Regions from separate parts of the Homo sapiens genome. Here regions 1, 3 and 4 are each linked to region 2. Evidence: promoter capture Hi-C in human tissues and cell types (Jung and others, 2019). All regions are on one chromosome and are shown on one strand. The core of a region is centred on a gene start or on the middle of the fragment in contact, and the rest is flanking DNA. Distances in the headings are between cores, read along the strand shown. Region 1 overlaps UBE4A (ubiquitination factor E4A). Region 2 holds the start of SCN2B (sodium voltage-gated channel beta subunit 2). Region 3 overlaps CD3E (CD3 epsilon subunit of T-cell receptor complex). Region 4 has its middle 6.6 kb from the start of IL10RA.

What was found. The method cuts DNA at HindIII sites, captures the fragments that hold promoters and counts their contacts. A contact is called where the count stands out against the background at its distance.
Region 1: a contact is called between a fragment that was not itself captured here and the fragment with the promoter of SCN2B in region 2, in 2 of the 25 tissues and cell types used here (bladder and dorsolateral prefrontal cortex).
Region 3: a fragment that was not itself captured here is called in contact with the fragment with the promoter of SCN2B in region 2 in 1 of the 25 tissues and cell types used here (spleen).
Region 4: a fragment that was not itself captured here is called in contact with the fragment with the promoter of SCN2B in region 2 in 1 of the 25 tissues and cell types used here (liver).

The regions. Positions count from the first base shown.
Region 1 is chr11:118,382,256-118,386,064 of GRCh38, reverse strand. UBE4A (ubiquitination factor E4A) reads right to left here. Exons shown (of 20, transcript NM_001204077.2): 13 at 3,289-3,476; 14 at 1,330-1,430; 15 at 1,120-1,233. All of the region lies in intron 3 of LOC100131626 (a long non-coding RNA gene), which reads left to right. Among named protein-coding and RNA genes, the nearest start is that of ATP5MG, 17 kb to the left of the region's middle. The HindIII fragment of the contact is 4,714 bases long and covers 136-3,809 here.
Region 2 is chr11:118,175,116-118,179,234 of GRCh38, reverse strand. It overlaps SCN2B (sodium voltage-gated channel beta subunit 2), which reads left to right and starts at 2,596. Exons shown (of 4, transcript NM_004588.5): 1 at 2,596-2,873. The coding sequence starts at 2,804. The HindIII fragment of the contact is 9,424 bases long and covers 1-2,968 here.
Region 3 is chr11:118,308,233-118,311,859 of GRCh38, reverse strand. CD3E (CD3 epsilon subunit of T-cell receptor complex) reads right to left here. Exons shown (of 9, transcript NM_000733.4): 4 at 3,419-3,433. Among named protein-coding and RNA genes, the nearest start is that of CD3E, 5.3 kb to the right of the region's middle. The HindIII fragment of the contact is 5,427 bases long and covers 1-3,627 here.
Region 4 is chr11:117,977,886-117,981,620 of GRCh38, reverse strand. No RefSeq gene overlaps it. Among named protein-coding and RNA genes, the nearest start is that of IL10RA, 6.6 kb to the left of the region's middle. The HindIII fragment of the contact is 4,071 bases long and covers 46-3,735 here.

The DNA of each region.
Region 1 (3,809 bases), core at 1,243-3,742, 210 kb before region 2:
CAAATCCCCCCTGCCAAATTGCTTACAAAAAAATCAAAGCTCTATCACATATGCAAGATGCGTGGAAGAACCATAATTATTTAAAACTCTCTACCTCACGTCATCCTTCCTGTTGTAGCAAACAACTTGTTAAACTTACAGTCTCATGAAAATACCATCTGCTTCATGCTTTGTGTCACACACCTCTTGCTTAAAAGGGCCTGTTTGTAACAGGACCTATTCTCGCTTTTGAAGAAAACCTATCTTAAATCCTAAAGCGTAGGATTATGAAGAAATCAGATCAAACCTTTCTCACAAATTAAACACAAGCTACTCAGGGGATTGCTGATCATAAGGAGGAGCTCATGACTGTCTAAAGGCTACCCTCAGGATTTACCTGCTTCATCTCCCTTTAGGTCAGTGCCTTGTCCATCCTATACCCATCACAGGTAAGGGAAGTTTTGCTCTACAGACAGCCAAGTTTTTATGGGAGAAGTAAGCAGTTCCACCAGGGAAGGTTAAGGAAATAATACACTGAAGGAGCTGAGAGGCACCCAGCTGCATTTTATACTTTGTGAAACCTTTGTTTCACCATATAGCTAAGAATTTAGAAGGCAGTGGAAATATGAGAAGTATTGACAACTTGGAGCCTTTATATGAAAAAATAACCCAAATCAGAGATTTTCTTTCAAGTAGTGGTGCAAAAATCAGAATCTTTTAGGAAAGTGGGTTAAAAATCACTGTCTTAGTGAGATATTTTACTGACATGTTGGGATTAAAAGGGTTGAAAGTCACTGACCAAAAGCAAGCTCCTCTGATTTCTTTCTGTAGTGCTGGCCTGATGAATTACTCCTGCCAGTACAACTTAGTTTGGCTTCACCATATGGTATTTTTGACTCTGCCAAAATGTCCATCTCATGATGCTTCAATGACCCTTGATCTTGGTCTCTAATGGAATGAACTAGAAAGCTCTATAATGACAAGCTTGGTGGTACACTACTAATCACAAATTTTTGGTGTTCAAGTCTGGTACTAGGGGCATAAGGACTGCTCTATTATGATTAAAAGGTAAAATGTATGTACTGCTGATGATTTGATGGTATGGAGAAGTTAAATCTTTTTTTTTTTTTTTTTTTTTACCTGTATGGCTTCATCCAAAAGGAAGATGGCATCATTCATTAGCAGGTTAAGAAAGCGGAGGAAAAGTGGGGGATTCATGGCTTCTAAATTCTTAGAGGCATAGTCAGCCAAATCCTGTAAGTCCCAGCCCACAAGAAAACCATTTTAGTACTGAATTACAACTCATTAGGGCTTATATAAAGCAACAGGTTTCATCAAAAACTCTCTCACCTTAATGCTCTCCCGATAGGTATCTGTCCCCCACATGTATCTTAGGATAGGATACATGGGACGGCGGTAATTAAACTTCTGTTCAAATTGATGGGGGTCTCCTGGAGTAAGGCAAGAGCGAAATATCAGCAAAGGCGGTGCCATAAGAGGAAGAGTTTATGCTTATGTGTAGCCATTTGCTTTGTAGTCATTTGCTTTTGAGTGTGTTAAGGCTACTAACAAAATCTGCCCTGGAGTTTCTAAAGGCCTAGAGTTATCGCCAAGTGTTTGCTCATTTCCTTACTGATGAAGTAAGGGGGAGACAGAGATAAAGGATACCTTACTCTGCAAGAGACAAGTACCAAGCTGTAAAATAAAAGTTAAGGGAAACAAATGTTTCCATATCCAAACATGAGTACTTCTCAGGCTTTAAATGAGGGCTCAGGGCTGGCCATTATGGCAGTGAAAGCCATGTGCAGGACGGGACACTAAGCAATTCCCACATTCTTCACAGACAATATCCCAAACTGTGTAGCCAACAGGTTCTTGATTACTCTGAAAAATCAGGTCAGGAGCTAAAAATCTGAGGCTTATACTGCTTTTGAAATACCAAAGGTATTACTAGAGCTCCACAGGCTGGGTCATAATAAAGGAAGAGTGTAGGATTTGGAGTCAAAAGACCTACGTTTTCATTCTGGCTCTGCTTAATCTAAGTCTCTTAATCTTCTTCAGCTTCCACTTCCTCAGAAATAAAACAGAAATTGTACTCCATTACAACACTTTGGTTGTATGGTCACATAACGAGATAACTGCAATGATTTATTATACAATTTCTTATGTATTATAAAGATTTACATGCATTATTTCACTTAATCATCACTTTGACCCATTTTATAGATGAGGAAACTAAGGTTGATAGGTGAGCGAATTAAAAAAAACCAGAATCCAAATATGGAAAGGCGGCCAGTAAAATGTTAAATGCCTCTTTAAATGTTAGTTGTATTTATCATTGGATGGTAGATATCCCTTTAAAAAATGGTCTTCAACAACTTCTTAACATATCTTATTTACTGATTGAGACAGGGTACTGTTTAAACAAACACAGGGGCTCAGGGTTAGATAGAGAGGGAATGTTGCCTGCTGGTTTTTTTTTTTTTTTTTTTTTTTTGAGAGGGATTTCTTGCTCTGTCATCCAGGCTGGAGTGGTGCGATCTCAGCTCACTGCCACCTCTGCCTCCCGAATTCAAGCAATTCTCGTGCCTCTGCCTCCTAAGTAGCTGGGATTACAGGCACCTGCCACCATGCCTGGGTAATTTTTGTATTTTTGTAGAGAATGGGTTTCACCATGTTGGCCAGGCTGGTCTCAAACTCAGGAGCTCAAGTGATCTGCCTACTTTGGCCTCCCAAAACGCTGGGATTACAAGCATGAGCCACTGTGCCTGTCCGCCTGCTGGTATTTTTAATCGAACCATTAGACTGTTGGAGAGTTAGATAGTCTGGTTAAGATAAAAGAATCTCTCAACCAATACACTGCCTCTTTATGCACTATTCTGTAATTTTAAGGCAGAGAAATATAAAGACCCAAATAGTCTAATTTGAGTCTGATTTGATGATGCAACATAATAAGGGTGTTGAATATGTAGATTTCTTTAGGTGACACAGACCTGATTCTACCACTTGGTAGTTTGTTATGACATGGACAAACTGATCTTTTGGGCAGTCATGTCTTCATATGTAAAACAAGAATAATTAAAAAATAAAAAATAAATAAAACAGGGATAATAGAGTGAAACTTTTCCAATGGTGACAATGGGATAATGTTAAAAAAAAAAAAAAAGCACTTATCATCAAGCCTGGCATATAGTAGGTATTCAATAAGTAATGGCTTGACATTTCTTTGATATCCAAATACGGATCAAACTATGAAACTCCACTGGTATCAGCTTCCCAGTTCTGGGCTCAGCTTCATGACTGCTTTACCTGTAAATTCGATGTCCACAAAAACCTTGATTAGAGCCTCTGCAAGTTGGGGTGCATACTGAAAGTTGCAGAACACACGTTTCCGGTGGAACACACTGGATACCAAGGGATTTGGGGTCTGATCCAGGTGGGGCATCACTGCTTCCAACACCTCTGCTAGTTTGGCCCTCAGGTGGGGATTCTTCATTCTGCAAAATGGGCAAAAAGCAAGATGAGCAGATAAGCTTAACTCCAAATTTATGACTCTGTTCTCTCCACATAAGAATCAAAATCCACCCTAAACCATATTACAGGAAAAAAAAGGATCCACTTCTGCAGTTTTAAGTTTGTCAGTTTCTTGGTGCGGCTGGGCGGGGGGTGGGGTGGTGATGCAGGGTACATCATTTAACTCTTGAGTTGACAGCTTACCAAATATGACGGTGAGCACTTAAGTTTCTATTGAATGCTTAGCCATTGTTTACTTCTCTGTAATAATGCATTATTTACTGCTTCCTATTCTCTGACAGTTTCATGTGGAATAA
Region 2 (4,119 bases), core at 1,347-3,846:
AGCTACTTAGGAGGCTGAGGCAGGAGAATCACGTGAACTTGGGAGGTGGAGGTTGCAGTGAGCCAAGATTGTGCCACTGCACTCCAGCCTGGGCCACAGAGTAAGCCTCTGTCTGAACAACAACAACAAAAGAATAAAGAGAAAAAGAAAAAGAAAAAAGAAATTATGGTGGCGGGAACCTGTAAACCCAACTACTCAGGAGGCTGAGGCAGGAGAATCACTTGAACCCGGGAAGCGGAGGTTGCAGTGAGCCAAGATCATGCCACTGCACTTCAGCCTGGGCCACAGAGTGAGATTCCATCGCAAAAAAAAAAAAAAAAAAAAAAAAAAAAAAATAATAATAATAATAATAATAATAAAATAAATAAATTAAAAAAAAAGAAAAAGGAAAAAGAAATCACCTATCCCAGGGTTAAGATTAAACTGACAGGGTGGGGGCGCGGTGGCTCACACCTGTAATCCCAGCACTTTGGGAGGCTAAGGTCGGTGGATCACGAGGTCAGGAGTTCAAGACTAGCATGGACAAGATGGTGAAACTCTGTCTGTACTAAAAATACAAAAATTAGCCAAGCATGGTGGCAGGCATCTGTAATCCCAGCTACTTGGGAGGCTGAGGCAGGAGAATTGCTTGAACCTGGGAGGTGGAGGTTGCAGTGAGCCAAGATCGCGCCACTGCACTCCAGCCTGGGAGAGAGAGCGGGACTCCATCTCACACACAAAAAAAGAAAAGATTAAACTGAGATACCACAGGCTGAGCATGGTGGCTCACGCTTGTACTCCCAGCACTTTGGGAGGCTGATGCAGGTGGAACACTTGAGGTCAGGAGTTCGAGACCAGCCTGGCCAACATGGTGAAACCCTGCCTCTACTAAAAATACAAAAAAATTAGCTGGGGGTGGTGGCACGTGCATGTAGTTCCAGCTACTCTTGAGGCTGAGACACAGGAATTGCTTGAACCCAGAAGGCAGAGATTGCAGTGAGCTGAGATTGCACCACTGCACTGCAGCCTGGGTGACAGAGCGAGACCCTGTCTAAAAAAAAATAATAAAATAAAAAAATAAAAAATTGAGATATCACATGTAAAGTGCTTGGCACAGAGTTTATGCTCAAAAATATTAGTTGCTCCCTGTTTGGTACACAAAGGGCCCATCACAAATGCAGGTGACTGCTGCATGCGAATCTCTGCCCTACTTAACCATCTCCCCAGGAGTATGGGGGTCACCTCTGCTTAGGACCACCTTGGACTCCACCCACCAAGTTCTCCTACTTATGACGTTAGCTTATTTTTTCTTCCTTCTTCAAAAGAAAAGTTTTAAACATACACAAAAGAAGAGAGAACTATATGACAAACCCTTTACACCCATCACCAGCTAGTTTCAATTATCAAGCAAAACAACTAGTCTCGTGTCACCTATTCTCCCATCTCTTTTTTTCGTTGAATATATATATATGTATTTTTGAGATGGAGTCTCACTCTGTGGCCCAGGCTGGGATGTAGCGGAGTGATCTCGACTCACTGCAACCTCCGCCTCCCAGGTTCAAGCAATTCTCCTGCCTCAGTCCCCCCAAGTAGCTGGGATTACAGGCACACGCCACCACACCCGGCTAACTTTTGTATTTTTAGTAGAGACAGGGTTTCACCATGTTAGGGAGGCTGGTCTCGAACTCCTGACCTCAGGTGATCTGCCTGCCTCGGCCTCCCAAAGTGCTGGGATTACAGGTGTGAGCCACCCCGCCCGGCCACCCATGTGTGTCTTTAACAGATAGAGATGTTAAAGGACAAAACCACATTTTATCAGACCCAACAAAATTAAGAATGATTCATTAATACAATCTACTATGTAGTTCATATTTAACTTTTCCCAATTGTCTCAAAAACTTTTCTTTCCTGTTGATTTGTTTGAATCAGGTTTATCCAAAGGCCTGTGTTACATTCAATTGTAAGATCTCTTGGGTATTTTTCTATCAGCCTGCTTCAACATGTTCTGTTTTCAGAGGAAACGCTAGAATGAGGAAAGCATTACCCCTTGAAAGTCTCTCCAACTCACTTTCCTGAACCCTTTTCAATAACACAAAAACAAGCATCTCCTTTTTTTTTTTAGGTTTTTTTTTTTTTTTTCCCTCTGGAGGCAGGGCCCAGGCTGGAGTGCGGTGCAGTAGCTGGGACAAGAGGCATGCGACATTATGCCTGGCTAAATTTTGTATTTTTAGTAGAGATGGGTTTTGCCATGTTGCCCAGGCTGGTCTTGAACTCCTGGACTCAAGCAATCCATCCGGCCTCCCAAAGTGCTGGAATTACAGGTGTGAGCCACTGCGTCAGCCTGGGGGTGTTTTTAAATGATAAAAGGTGTTTCCCTTTCCAGAATCTTTAAAATAAATGGATTCCTCTAATAGCTTTCAAAATCCAACAATCATCCCAGTGAAGTCAAAAAGCAGGGTTTGTATTATTTCTTGTTTTAGAGGGTAAAAATTTCTGGGATTTTGTTCTTTTCAAAATGACTTTTTTATGCCCTCCCACCTGCTTTTTGAAATCCACCAACCACAATATTTACCCCATCCCCCTTTTCTCTCCCCCCCATCTCTCTCTCTCTCCTTTACACACTCCCTCTCTCTCTCTTTTTAGCAGCAACATACAAGCCGGCCATATTAGAGAGATGGAAATAAAGCTTCCTTAATGTTGTATATGTCTTTGAAGTACATCCGTGCATTTTTTTTTAGCATCCAACCATTCCTCCCTTGTAGTTCTCGCCCCCTCAAATCACCCTCTCCCGTAGCCCACCCGACTAACATCTCAGTCTCTGAAAATGCACAGAGATGCCTGGCTACCTCGCCCTGCCTTCAGCCTCACGGGGCTCAGTCTCTTTTTCTCTTTGGGTAAGTTAGACACATCTGCATGCTCCCGAGGGTTCAGAAGTGTAGCCGCAATGTGAAGAGGATGGGGGCAGGGGATAGGAAAGAAGACATTGCTAGCGCTTTCCCTCTGTGTCCTTGGGAGGGGAGGTGCTGGGGACTGGAAGGGACGTTGCTGGGGAGTGCAGAACCCTGGGACTACTTAGTCACAGAAATGTTGGGTCAGGGGATCTGAGTGTTGCTGGGGGCTGACAATTGTCAAGGGAGGTGAATCTTCTCTGGATTTCCCCTAAGTGGACCTACGTGGCGGTGGGGCAGAGAGTGGATTGACCTGCAGTCTCTTCAGGGATTATTTTTTGGAGTTGCTGCAAATGCGGGGTCCTGGGACTTAATGCTCCCTTAAGGGGCTTCTTTTCAGAAGCTTGATCCTGGTGGATTTAGGGTATTAGGAGAGTGTGCAGGGGAGCTGGTGGCAGAAAGTTGAGTCTGGGTCTGGCTTCTTGGCACTCGGTCTCACTGATCTGTTGGAACGTGTGTGGGAGTAGGTGGGAAGCGGGCTTGGGGAATGATGTCTGGGTTGGGAGGAGACCTGCTGAGGCACGCACTGATGGAGAAGGCACCTTTGGCTTGGGCCGGATGGAATGGAGGAAGGGCCAGGTGTAGAGATTCAGGAAAAAAATGGAACCCACAGGCTGAGCGAGGTTGCAGCCCTTTAAATCCAGCCTCAGAACTGCCCAGCCCAGTCTTGCAGACTGTCCTGTCAAGTGTTTGTATTTGACCACTCAGAGACTTCCTGGTGGGGAAGTGGGCTAGAAAGTTATTTGCAAGCCTGCTTTGTAGAGTTTCATTCTTGCTCCTAAACTTACTTATTGCTGGAGCAGCAACTGAGAGTCAAGTCCAAGGACTGTTGATGGAACTATTCCCCACCACAAAGGCTCTCTCTCTTTCTGTGGTGTGATGTGCTGGGTTTGGAGTAGGAGTGCTAAACACAGACAGTGCAGAGGCCCTGCCAGCCTGCTTTGCTGAGTTACTTGGCATATTAACATCAGAGCAGGAATGCTATGGAATCTCTGGCAGGACCTGGGTTTCAAGCCACCTTTGTCATTTACGTAATGATCACAGGCAAGTTACTCAACCCCTCTGAGCTTCAGTTCCCTCCCGGGTAAACTAAAGAATGCCTACTGCCTGACGTGTTTGTGATTTGGTGCATGGCAGGAACTCAACGATGGCTAACATAAGAATGCTTTTCGTGAGCCCAGGCACTGTGTAT
Region 3 (3,627 bases), core at 55-2,554, 130 kb before region 2:
TAAAGCCGAAAAATTCCAGAGGTCTTCAAGCTTATCCTCTTAAATTAGCCAGAACTGTATTACAGATAGATATGAATGACAAAAGAACCAACCAAATGCAGGAAGTCATCTGTCATCCAGGTCTTAGATTTGCTTGTCAGAAGGGAGCGCTACTGGCCTTCTCAGAAATAAAGCTCTCCACACCACTGAATCACTGATTCGTGGACTTACCTATTTCTTACAATTTAAAATCCTTTCTCAGAACTGAGTCCCTCATAATAGAGAAGAAACATCTTTGTTCTTATTCCATATAATTTTCTCTCTATTTGCCTTTAAATAATGTGAAATACTCTACACGTTTTGAGGGAATGCTTCTTCCAATAAAAAGTGGCTTCACTTTACATTATATCTGAGCATAATCAGCTCTCAATTATTTTTGTTAGAGGGAGGCCTATTAGTGTGGACAACTGAAATCAACTAATAAACCACTAATGCCATTCGTAGGTCCAGCCTGTGTTTCCCACAGCAGCCATTTTTGCCCTGGGAGGTGGAGCTAGGAGTCCTTTATTATTTCCTGGAAAACTTGTGGCTGGAACACTGGGTTCTGCTACAGTCTGGACATAACAGCTGGAAGAGAGGAGAGGCAGTGCTGCTGCTGTCAGGGACAGAGCTCTGGACTCAAGAGTCAGAAGCCCTGAGTTTGAATCCTGGATCTGCCCTAGTCTGTGTGACTGAGGGCAAGTCATTTAACTTTGCTGAACCTCAACTTCTTTATCAGGGAAATGGAGATAAAACACCAACCTCACAAAGTTTTTGCGAAAATTAAATGGATTATGAAGGTGAAAGTGAATGACACATAGCAGGTGCTCAAGAAAAAGTTACTTCCTTTCCTCCTTTCCTTCTTGAGGTCCTGCTACTCCCAGAGCAGAACTAAACTCTGACCCAGTTGCTCAGGCAGCCCTCTGACAAAGACTGCACAGAATGTAAACAAAACATTCTCCAGGTTTTTCCACCTGCTTATAATTGGGAGTTGAGTATAAGGACAGTAGATAGTTTATATTATTTTAATTTATAAATAATTTTTCAACACGGATGTTTCTTAGACATGTTAAATGAACTAGAAATCATAAATAAAGTACATAGACATTATACTCTGCTGGGTGTGTTTGTTTGAAAAAAATGTAAAGAAAATTGCTCACAACTTTTATTGGCACAAATTCAGTAGCAGAGCTTAGACTTAACTCATGCTCACACAAGGGTCTAGATGTCTGTGCTTAGACAGAAATGTGCTCCACGTATGTTCATTGTGCACTATTCACAATAGCAAAGACATGGAATCAACCTAAATGCCTGTCAGTGGTAGACTGGATAAAAAAATGTGCTGCATATACACCATGGAATACTACGCAGCCATAAAAAAGAATGAGATCACGTCCTTTGCAGGAACATGGATGGGACTGGAGGCCATTATCTTTAGCAAACTAACACAGTGACAGAAAACCAAATACCACATGTTCTCATTTAGAAGTGGGAGCTAAATGATGAGAACACATGAACACAGAGGGAAATGACACACACTGGGACCTCTCAGAAGGTGGAGGGTGGGAGGAGGGAGAGGATCAGGAAAAATAACTAACAGGTACCAGGCTTAATGCCTGGGTGATGAAATAATCTATACAACAAACCCCCATGGCACAAGTTTACCTATATAACAAACCTGCACATGTACCCCTGAATTTAAAATGAAAGTTAAGTTAAAAAAAGATATGTGTGCTCACAAAGATTTTATACATATCCAGAAACAGTATTTCATAATGGTTGAGAAAATGAACTTCGGTATCATATAAATCTGCATTAAAATTTTTTTATTTTTAAATTTCTATTTATTAATTTTTTCAGAGACAGGGTCTTTCTCTGCCACAGAGGCTCGAGTACAGTGGCACAATCTTTGCTCAATGCAGCCTCAACCTTCTGAGCTCAAGCGAGCCTCCTGCCTTGGCCTCCCAAAGTGTTGGGATTATAGGCATGAACCATGGCACTTGGCCTAAATCTGCATTTATATCCCCAGGACTGGATTGTTTACTTATTTTTGTTTATTTCTGTATTTATTTGAGGCTTTGTTTCCTTAACTGTACAGTAGGGGTGTTGGAAGAATTAAATGAGGAAATTCAAGTAAAATATTTAGAGCAATGCCTAAAACATACATGCTCAGTAAACTTTAATGCTTATCATCTATAGTCAGCATGCTTTCCATGTATTAATAGCTAAAATTCACCTACTGTCTGTTTGTTTGTTTGTTTGTTTTGAGACAGAGTCTTGCTCTGTCGCCCAGGCTGGAGTGCAATGGCACAATCTCAGCTCACTCCAACCTCCGCCTCCCAGGTTCAAGCAATTCTCCTACCTCAGCCTCCTGAGTAGCTGAGATTACAGGCACCTGCCACCATGCCTGGCTAATTTTTGTATTTTTAGCAGAGATGGAGTTTCACCATGTTGGCCAGGCCGGTCTCGAACTCCTGACCTCAGGTGATCCTCCCACCTCGGCTTCTCAAAGTGCTGGGATTACAGGTGTGAGCCACCATGCCCGGCCCTCCTACTGCCTTTTATGTCAGATAATGTTCTAAGTGCCTTAAATGAATTACTCATTTGGTCCTCATAATAACCCTACAAGTTAGGTAGCACTATTATTTCCATTGTACCATGATGATGCTGTGGCACAGAAAAGTTAGGTAAATTACTCAAACACACCCAGCAAGTAGAGAGTTGAGCCAAGATTCAAACATTCTGATCTAGCTCAGTTAGACTCTTATCCTCATACTATACAGCTTTATCTCTTCTGCATAAAATATTTTTCTTCCCTAAAACATAAGCTTATCCTTTAAAATTCAGCTCAAGGACCACCTCCCCCAGGGAACCTTTCCCAACGACACTCAGTAGAGTTGACCACTCCCCTCTTTATACTTCATTTTACTCTGTATCTACCCATATTATAACATGCAACTCACTATATTTTCAATTATTTGTCTCTCACACAAGACCATCAGCTTCTTGAGGGGAGGTAATTAGCAATGTGTTCATATGTTTGTTCATTTATTCATTCAAAAAATATTCATTGAGCACCTACTATGTGCCAGACACTGGGCTAGGTAAATGAGACACTGTCTCTGTCTGCCTTCAAAGATTTCATGGCTTATACAAAAACACATGGTAGCTCCAACCCACATCCATATGTGTATGATCAGAGATACATATATGCACAGCTATAATCTGACATGACAGCTAGCAACAAATACAGGCAAGTTTCATACGGATCCCATTGAAAGATACTTGTATTTTCCCTTTAATAGTTTTAGTTCTCAGGGTTTGTTACTGTGATTGTACTCTATGAGCATTTCATTCCATATTTGAAAACTTTTGCTAGATAGAGTGGAAATCTTCTTACCCATTTCTTCATTACCTGAAAAGGAAACAGTAAGAAGCCATTAGTAATGTTTCTATCGGCAATGAAGATCAGACCCTGCTCCCGTGGGTTGGGACTCTTCCCTCAACTCTTAGGAAACAATGGATCTTCCAATTCCCTCAGCTGCATAGAAAAAGCTGTTATGGGCCTTACATCTTATCTGATGACTATTTACAAAAATGGCTCCTAAG
Region 4 (3,735 bases), core at 832-3,331, 200 kb after region 2:
GGCAGAGCCAGGATTTGAATGCAGGCTATTCCAATGTATCCTGCTGCCTCATGGAGAGCACCCAGAATAGGAGTTACGTCAGGCATGTGATTACTATACTTGAAAAGGAAGAAAAAGAAACACGGAATCCACATGTTTATTTTGTTTTGTTTTCAGTGTTCTGAAAAGTCCACCCTAAAGTTCTGTGTATTCTGGTATTCACACCAGTAGAGAGACATATGATAGGAGGCAATCATTAAAGGATCTTCTCTTTTTAAATTTTTTCTTAATTTTTATTTATTTATTTATTTATTGAGACAAGGTTTCACTCTGTCACCCAGGCTGGAGTGCAGTGGCTTGATCTTGGCTCACTGCAGCCTCTACTTCCCAGGCTCAAGTGATCCTCCCACCTCAGCCTCCTGAGTAGCTGGGACTACAGGTGCAGGCCACCATGCCCAGGTAATTTATTTTATTTTATTTTTTTTGGTAGAGATGACATTTCACCATGTTGCCCAGGCTGGTTTGGAACTCCTAGGCTCAAACGATCCTCCTGCCTTAGCCTCCCAAAGTGCTAGGATTACAGGCGTGAGCCACCACACCTGGCCATATCTTCTATTAATATTTATTGAGTTTTTATGACCTATCGGGCACTATGTGAAATACTTCACATGTTGTGGCAGAGAATGGCCAGATGCTTAGTAATACCAGTTCCTCTTCCTGGGCACATGGGGCAACTATATTTCCCAGTCCCCCTTGCAGTTAAGTAGAATATGTGGCTGGCTTTTAAGCACTGTAAAGTTGAGTTGATGGGTGCCACTTCCAGGCCTGGCTGCTAACTCTGTCTTTGCTATTCTGCCAGCCATCTGGAGGTGTCCAGTGGAGGACTCCAAGGGAATAGAGGGAGCTTGGGCCCCTGAATCACCTCTTGGAGGGCAGCTGTGCAGAAAAGACACCCAGTTTGCATCAGCCTATTGATTGGGTGAGGAGTAAACCCTCTCAAGCCACTGAGATTTTGTGAAGTTTTTTTCATAGCAGCTAGTGTTAACTACCCTGAATAATCTGCAAACCTTATTTCATTTAATCCTTATAAACACTCAGTGAGATAAGCATCATTATCAGTGTTTTACAGATGGGAAAATGAGGTGAGAGACTGAGTCACTTGCCCATGTCATTCACTCAGTACGTAGCAGAGCTAGAAGCCTGTTCAACTGGTCTGTTTGACTCCAGAGCTCATGCTTTTACTACCATGTGAACAGTGCCCTTCTGAATCTTGGAAGAATTCTTGCAAGAGACAAATGTCAAGTGATTGAGAGAAAGAGAGAACGGGGTTGGAGAAAAAGACAAGGGGGAGGGCAAGAGAGGAGGAACAGCTGAGGGCTGAGAGTCTTGTAGATGGTAGAGGGACGTGGCTAGCCCAGGGAACCAGGGAACCTGCTGCGTGAACATCTGGCCCCTAGGGTTACCCTGGGAAATTTTGAGGGCAGATTTTGGGCTCTGGGTGGTTCCATTGTCTCATTTTCATTTGACTTTATCTTGGTGCTCAGGATGATGCTGTTAAATGGGCATGCCTGGGGAGTCGGATGGGCATCTGAGTTGGCAGGAAGTCTGTGCTTGAGTGTGCTAACAAGCGTAACTTGCAGTTTCTGTCCCTCAACTGGTGAGTAGGGAAGTTCCAGGACTTGTGATCACTGTGTCAGAGCTGCACATAACAAGGAGAGAGACACAGAGGGAACTGACCGTAAGAAGGAGACACAGAGAAGGAAACTGTGTGGGTAGGAAACTTGGTAGTTGTTGGGTCCAGGAGAATTGCAGATGCACAGTGAGGGGCTCGCCCAGCCCCAGCAACGGCCCTGGGAGAAGTCTCCAGTTGCCAAACCTAATGAGTGTCCACATCCCTTCACCTTCTCCCTGGCTCCCCCCTGGAGGAGCACCAAAGAGCTCAGAAGGGACAAAACCCCATTCTCAACATTCCTCTCGACTCTGTGTGGTGGCTCAGGCTTGAATGGGGAGTTCCTAGAACTTTAGCTGGGTGGGTGAAAGGCATCAGTGAAGGGTTTTAGGCAGGAGAGGGATATGGCAGATTTGCATTTTAAATAGAAGAGGAAATCTAGAGCATGAAGGTGAGTAGCCAGGGTAACTCACTAGTTAGTGACAGAATTAAAACTTTGGTCTCCAGATCGAAGCTCAACTCTCTGGCTCTCAAACCATAGCAGCTAAGTTTGTGGAACTGTGAAGACTGCGTGAGGTTGTCATGCCCATCAGTTTAGGGGGAAGGGGAAGAAGTACTGATCTCCCAGGTGAAGGAATGCCCATGCTAATTACTTTAAATCAGCAGAGCTGGGGCTAAGAGCCTTCTCATTCCTATAATCTGCCTGGGACACTGTTCTTGGTCATTGCCTTAGGTGGGAGGAGCCTGGTTACCTCAAAACCAACAGACCTACTTCTAGCCCCAGCTTGGTCACTACCAGTCGTGCACCCTGGAACCGGTCCCTTTGGCTCTATTAGCTGTTGGCAAGATTGGAATCTGGGCTGTTGTAAAGCCAGACACAAAGTGTTCTGGTAACTGATAATGGCTTCTCAAGTGAGAGTGAGAGGTGACAGCCTGCTGGCAGTCCTCAGAGCCCTCGCTTGCTCTCGGCACCTCCCCTGCCTGGGCTCCCACTTTGGCGGCATTTGAGGAGCCCTTCAGCCCCCCCACTGCACTGTGGGAGCCCCTTTCTGGGTTGGCCAAGGCTGGAGCCCACTCCCTCAGCTTGCAGGGAGGTGTGGAGGGAGAGGCTCCAGCGGCAACCGGGGCTGCGTGCGGCGCTTGCGGGCCAGCTGGAGTTCCGGGTGGGCGTGGGCTTGGCGGGCCCCGCACTCGGAACAGCCAGCCAGCCCTGCTGGCCCCGGGCAATGAGGGACTTAGCACCCGGGCCAGTGGCTGCGGAGGGTGTACTGGGTCCCCCAGCAGTGCCGGCCCACCGGCGCTGTGCTCGATTTCTTGCCGGGCCTTAGCTGCCTTCCCGCGGGGCAGGGCTCGGGACCTGCAGCCCGCCATGCCTGAGCCACCCACCCACTCCATGGGCTCCTCTGAGGCCCGAGCCTCCCCGTGGAGCACCACCCCCTGCTCCAAGGCGCCCAGTCCCATCGACCACCCAAGGGCTGAGGAATGCGAGCGCACGGCGCAGGACTGGCAGGCAGCTCCACCTGAAGCCCCGGTGCGGGATCCATTAGGTGAAGCCAGCTGGGCTCCTGAGTCTGGTGGGGACGCGGAGAGTCTTTATGTTTAGCTCAAGGTTTGTAAACACACCAATCAGCACCCCTGTGTTTAGCTCAAGGTTTGTGAGTGCACCAATCGACACTCTGTATCTAGCTGCTCTGGTGGGGCCTTGGAGAACCTTTGTGTCCATACTCTGTATCTAACTAATCTGATGGGGACGTGAAGAACATTTGTATCTAGCTCAGGGATTGTAAATTTACCAATCAGCACCCTGTCAAAACAGGCCACTTGGCTCTACCCATCAGCAGGATGTGGGTGGGGCCAGATAAGAGAATAAAAGCAGGCTGCCCGAGCCAGCGTTGGCAACCCGCTCGGGTCCCCTTCCACCCTGTGGAAGCTTTGTTCTTTCGCTCTTTGCAATAAGTCTTGCTACTGCTGACTCTTTGGGTCCGCGCTGCTTTTATGAGCTGTAACACCGCGAAGATCTGCAGCTTCACTCCTGAGCCCAGTGAGACCACAAGCCCACCAGGAGGAACGAACAACTCCAGATGCGC